Linked DNA regions of Homo sapiens: region 1 is linked to region 2. The links are contacts of gene promoters, found by promoter capture Hi-C in blood cells and fetal thymus (Javierre and others, 2016). All regions are on one chromosome and are shown on one strand. The core of a region is centred on a gene start or on the middle of the fragment in contact, and the rest is flanking DNA. Distances in the headings are between cores, read along the strand shown. Region 1 overlaps ARMCX2 (armadillo repeat containing X-linked 2). Region 2 holds the start of ZMAT1 (zinc finger matrin-type 1).

Region 1 (2,998 bases), core at 132-2,631, 280 kb after region 2:
GTCACCAGCTTTAAGCTGAACCATTTTATGAATACCAAATAAATAGACCTCTTGTACTGAAAACATATTTGTGACTTTAATCGTGCTGCTTGGATAGAAATATTTTTACTGGTTCTTCTGAATTGACAGTAAACCTGTCCATTATGAATGGCCTACTGTTCTATTATTTGTTTTGACTTGAATTTATCCACCAAAGACTTCATTTGTGTATCATCAATAAAGTTGTATGTTTCAACTGACAAAAAGTCGTTCTAATGCTTGAATTTAAAACCCAGATGGAGAGATAAGGTACATAAATACAAAAGTATATATACAAAGATCTATGAAAAATAATAATAATAAATAAATACAAAAGGATTACTAACAGTACCTGGGCATATGCTCTTTGTCAAATATACACTATCTGTTTAAATGAAGCAGAGGTTGCTGAGAAAGCTTCAAGGAGGAAGGGCGCATTTAAGCTGAACCCTGAAGGACAACATAGAAGGGCATTCCAGGAGGGGGAAATGCTTTGGAGAAAGGCATGCAAGTGAGAAATCTGTGCCTGTGATAGGAAGGTAGCCAATTTGCTTGGAATGGAAGCCATGGGAAGAGGAATGATGAGAGATAAATGTGAAAATTCAGAGTGAGGAAAGTTTGAGGAAGATCCTGAACCCCAAGCCAAAATATTGAAATAATATCTTGTCATATTATGCAAATTGCTGAACATTTTTGACTAAAGGAAAAATAATCTGGTGGCAATATTAAAGATGGATTGGAGCTATGTTGGAGACTGGACATTTGTTAGAAAGTTATAATAAGCCAAGCAAGAGATGATGAGGGGTGAAGTGGGGTGGTGACTAAGGGAACTGTTAGTGTATGATGATAATAAGAGACAAAACAAAACAAGAAGGACGAAGATCTGCTGCCTGACGCTTGTCTGTGGATCAACAAAGCTGGAGGATTGTATAACCTCATGCAGGTCCTGACAGGGAAGAGCCCTATTTGGGGGGCAACTGTGGAGACGGCACAATGACAAAGTGAGTCACCATTTGGGATGAGAAAAAAGCAGTGTGGCAGAAAGAATGACTCTTGGCACAGAGCAGTGGTTGGCTTCCTAGGGTTAGAGGTTTAGGTCTGCCATCTTTTAGAAGAGGGGCAGTGGTGAGGCCTTGATGGGAGTCCCCATCCCCACTCCCAAGTTCACTTATGAACAGGTATGCTTTCCTCCCTGGCCCACTGAAGCAATTAGAAAGTGGGAGGGTCCGAGAGATTTTTCCAAACCCAGCCTGCTTTCCTGACACCCTTTATGGTTAACAACAGTATATTGTATACTTAAAATTTTCAGAAAGAGTAGATGTTAAGTGTTCTAACCACAAAAGATAACTATATGGGGGCAAATGCATATGTTAATTAGCTTGTTTTAGCCATTCCACAATGTATACATATATCAAAATATCATGTTTACCCCTAAATATATACAATTCTTATTCGTCTATTAAAAATACATTTTTTAAAAACTGATATACTTCTATATTGGCATGAAAAGACATTAACTACGTGTAAGGGCCTGTCGCATCAGTCAAAAAGTCCACACAATTAAAACTGGGTGAAAATTCCTTCATATGTTTATTATATACATCCCTGCGTATTTTTTTCATAAAATTGGAATCATATTGTATGATAATGGTTCTCAATGTGTAGTCCATGGACTACTGCAGGTCCCTGAAACAGTAAGGTCAAAACTATTTTCAAAACAATAGTAACATGTTATTTGCTGTTTTCACCGAGTTGACATTTGCACTGATGGTGCAAAAGCATTGGTGGGTAAAACTGCTGGTGCCTTAGCATGGATTAAGGCAGTGTCCCCATACTATACTAGTAGTGATTGCATTCTTTAGAACCACACGCTCTAATTTTTTTAAATCCAAATTTATTTAAAAATGTATTTAATATAGTCCTTATTTATAAAAATTATATATGATAAAATCTCAATGATTGAGTGCAAGTCTTTTTAATATTCCGTGTGATGAAATAGGAAGTACGCACAAAGCATTTCTGCCACATAGCTTAGGACAATGGTTGTCTCTAAGGTAAATATTTGCATAATCATTTTAGTTGTGCACTGAATTAGCTGCTTTTTTCATGGAACATTAGTTTTACTTGAAGAATGACTGGCAGACAAACTATGGTTTTTCAGACTTCGGTATTTAGCAGAGATTTTCTTGAAAATGAATGAAGTGAGACTTCAAGAAAAACAACTGACAGGATTTGTCACCAGCAATAAAATTTGAACTTTTATGCAAAATTAGAAATTTGTAAAACTTGTATCCACAAATTCAAGCTTGACAGCTTCTCTTGAAGATTTTTCTGAAGAGATCACTGGTGATAATAATGGAGGTGATGGCCTTTTTTCTTTTTCTCCTAGGAGAAAATTGATAGAAGACCCTAGGGCCTAATGTTCTTACTCAGTTTTACTGTAATCATTGTAACCCATATGACATCGAATCTATGGCTATTTAATAAATAATACAATTGCTGTGGTAACAACATGACCCTGAGTGAGGTTAGACCCAAGAATTTTTGAACCATTACTAAGGATAACCTGAAAATATGTCAGTCCTGGAAAAGTATTTCTGGGGTAAGATAGAGGTAGTATTTGAGTTCGTATATGGAAGATGGATGCATCAGAACCTCCTGGCTTGATCCTCACTATTCAGGTAGTCTAACCAGCTTTATCTGCTCTGATTAACAGTGGAAACTTCCATAATCTTCAGGTGAAACCTATTCCCATACAGAGATGTGTGGTCTGGCCTAACGAATAAGCTACAAATCACACAATAGGGAAATGCTTTATTTCCTAAGGTCTGAATTTTTGTGCCTTAAATCATATCACATGTGAAAGTACGAGCGTAGTTCAGGTGTGGCTAAATCCTAAAAGAGTAGCTCTTTGAAAGATTTAACTTCGTAAAATAATAACAATAGGTACCAGGAATTGAGCATCAGCTATATAGTATTC
Region 2 (2,889 bases), core at 151-2,650:
TGAGATCAGAGGAAAGAAGACCAGTGGGGTGGATGCCATACGTCTGACCATATATCATGAGGACTTGAAATACAGCAACGGATCTAAGACTGGAAAGGAGAGAATACTTAAGGGAGACTTGCACAAAGGCACCAGGAGGTGTGCCCATCAATAAGGAAAAGGGTGAGATATCCTACAGCATCGACAGTGCATAACTACAGCTACAAGCAACAACATAGATGAATCTTAGAATGTTACGTGAAAGAAACAAGTCCCAGGCCAAGCATGGTGGCTCCTTCCTGTAATCCCAGCTACTCCAGAGGCTGAGGTAAGAGTATTGCTTGAGGGAAAAAAAAGCAGAAACAAGTCCCAGAATGCTACCTAGAAAAAGATATAAATATTTGTGAAAATTGAAAACAATCAAAACTAAACAACACTATTTAGGCACATATCTATGTGATAAGAATATATGTTAAAATGCAAAGAAATAATAAATATAAATCAGGATATTGGTCTCTTTGAGAGGAGAGGTTGGGGGGACAAGATGAGATTTAAGTGATCAGTAATATTCTAGTACTTCTATTGGGTGCTGAATTCACAGGAAGTTATTGTAATTAAGATGGGCAGATCGATAGATAGGCAGTCCTTTAAGAGGCCACGGAAACAATGTGTCAGAATGAAAGCTTCTGTTCTATTCTCTGTACTAAGTGCTTTAAGAAAGCCAGGGGCCGGGCGTGGTGGCTCACGCCTGTAATCCCAGCACTTTGGGAGGCCGAGACAGGTGGATCATGAGGTCAGGAATTCAAGACTAGCCTGGCTAACATAGTGAAACCCCATCTCTACTAAAAATACAAAAATTAGCTGGGCATGGTGGCACATGCCTGTAATCCCAGCTACTCGGGACACTGAGGCAAAATTGCTTGAACCAGGACCCGGGAGGCAGAGGTAGCAGTGAGTGAGATCGCACCACTGCACTCCAGCCTGGGCTACAGGGCGAGACTCTCCCTCAAAAAAAAAAAAAAAAAAAAAAAAAAAGAAAGAGAAAAAAAAAGCCAGGTGAAGATATATTTCAGAGATATTTTGGAGGTGAGATCAATAGTTTCCAGACATTTTTTCCTCTTAAATTGGTTTTAGATTAGATCTCCAAAGAAGCCTCACTGTGCGAGGCCCACGTGCTTTCACATCCCGCGCTTTTTGCCCTTTGCCCTTGGCCGTCGTTGCTTCCCCTCCAAAGGGAGGTGGGGTGACGCAAGGCAGTGGGGGAGGGGGAAACGGCCGGCGGGCTTAAAGCTCTCCGATTGGTGGACTGAGGAGCGAGAACGAGGCTCGAGCTGAAGCGTTAAAAAGAGGAACAAAGGGGGTGGGGCTAACGGAAGGCGGGGCTAAAGGAGCTTAACGGAATCGAGACGCAAGTGCAATTGTCCGCGCGCCTCGCTGCGATGGCGGCGGCGCCGAGCACAGTCACCCCGCTGGCGGCGGAGTCTTCCCCTCAGGAAGCTACCGTCTCTGCCGCCTCCTCCTCCTCCTACACCGCCTGCGCGGCAGCGGCGGCGGCGGCGGCGGCGGCGGCAGTAATTGTTCCTGCCTCCTCCGCCACCTCCGCCCCTGCCTGCCCGCCTGCCGGTGGCTGTGGCGACGGCGGCGGCGGCGGCTTTGGCGGCTCCACTATGGCGGCGGCGGGGAGGGGGGGCAGTAGTTTTAAAGTAGACACCCGCCCTTGCCTCAGAGAAGGTGAGTTCCCGTCCCGGGGTGCGGGGGCGGCCCCATCTCCTTCGCTGCCTCTCTTCAGCCCGTCCGAGATTGGGCTGGGCGCGGTTCGCCACTGCCCCACCCCCACCTGCCGTGGCGCAGTAAAGGCCAAGCTCGCCCCGCCCCGCCCCGCCGTATTAGCCCCGAGTGTGCAAGATGGACTGAAGCAGAGAGGGCCTTCCCTACCTCTCCCACCTGTAAAGGATGGGGGCCCCCAGGCAAAAGAATTGCAGGTACTCATGAGGCAGGAGTTTGAAGGGAAAAAAAAATACCACATAATTTCTCTCCCAGCCAGGACACCTTAGTGTGCTGTAGGAAGCTGAGGTGTGATTTGGAAGAGAGAGGAGGCAAGATAGAAGTGCTGTGGGCCAAGAGGGTCAAGGATAAGGGAACGGGGACCGATGGAGAAAGGGGCGGAGATAAAAGAGGAAATACCGAAGAAATAAGGGGGAGTAAACCCCCTTTGGTGTTCAACGTCCTGCAGTGTAGAAACTAGAAGTAGAATATTTACAGAGAGATGGCGTTAGAAATTTGGGCAGGTTACAAGTGTATACTTGAGCTTTAAAGTAGGATCTGTCGGATTTTAGGAAGGTAAGGTCTGGTGGAGGGGACTCTACTAGGGAAAGAGAGGAAGAGAGTGTGGCAGAAGTACAGATTTCAGGAATCACTTTGGAGAGTTTTCTTTGGCTATTTGAGGATGTGACCTAGTAAAGCAAGATTTACAGGTCCATCTTTAAGGTGGTTTGGCTTTAATAAGTTCTGTTGTACCTACCAACACATATTACTCCTAACATAAAAAGATATTTCTTGACTGTATCAATATAAGCGGTATTCACACAAAGTTCTGTATACTTGTAAACAGCCTACTAATAGCAAACTGTAAAATTTGCCATTGAAATGTGTTTTAAAGCAGTTTGGGAAATGTTCTTAGCTGGTGGAGACCATTCCACTGCAGAGCATCCCAGTAAAGCATTTTGCCATGTAAATTTCGTAATTAATTTCCAGAATTTGCTGTGTTACCTTATGTTGCTAACTTGCCTCCAAAGTGAAAGATTGTGGACACCAAAATAGAGGAAAGTAAGTTCCTTTTTCTTAGGAAGATACTCCATTAAAATTATCGCATAAAAATAATCTCTTCTTCACATTCTTAAATGATATATC

What was found. Contacts are between HindIII fragments. The CHiCAGO score rates a contact against its expected background, and 5 or more counts as called.
Region 1: a contact is called between a fragment that was not itself captured here and the fragment with the promoter of ZMAT1 in region 2, in 1 of 17 cell types (monocytes). The highest score is 5.1, in monocytes.

Annotation. Positions count from the first base shown.
Region 1 is chrX:101,652,528-101,655,525 of GRCh38, reverse strand. ARMCX2 (armadillo repeat containing X-linked 2) reads left to right here. Exons shown (of 6, transcript NM_177949.4): 6 at 1-245. Among named protein-coding and RNA genes, the nearest start is that of ARMCX2, 5.8 kb to the left of the region's middle. The HindIII fragment of the contact is 1,888 bases long and covers 438-2,325 here.
Region 2 is chrX:101,930,538-101,933,426 of GRCh38, reverse strand. ZMAT1 (zinc finger matrin-type 1) reads left to right here and starts at 1,400. Exons shown (of 6, transcript NM_001394560.1): 1 at 1,400-1,710. The coding sequence starts at 1,419. RefSeq lists an enhancer at 1,121-1,621. The HindIII fragment of the contact is 3,682 bases long and covers 665-2,889 here.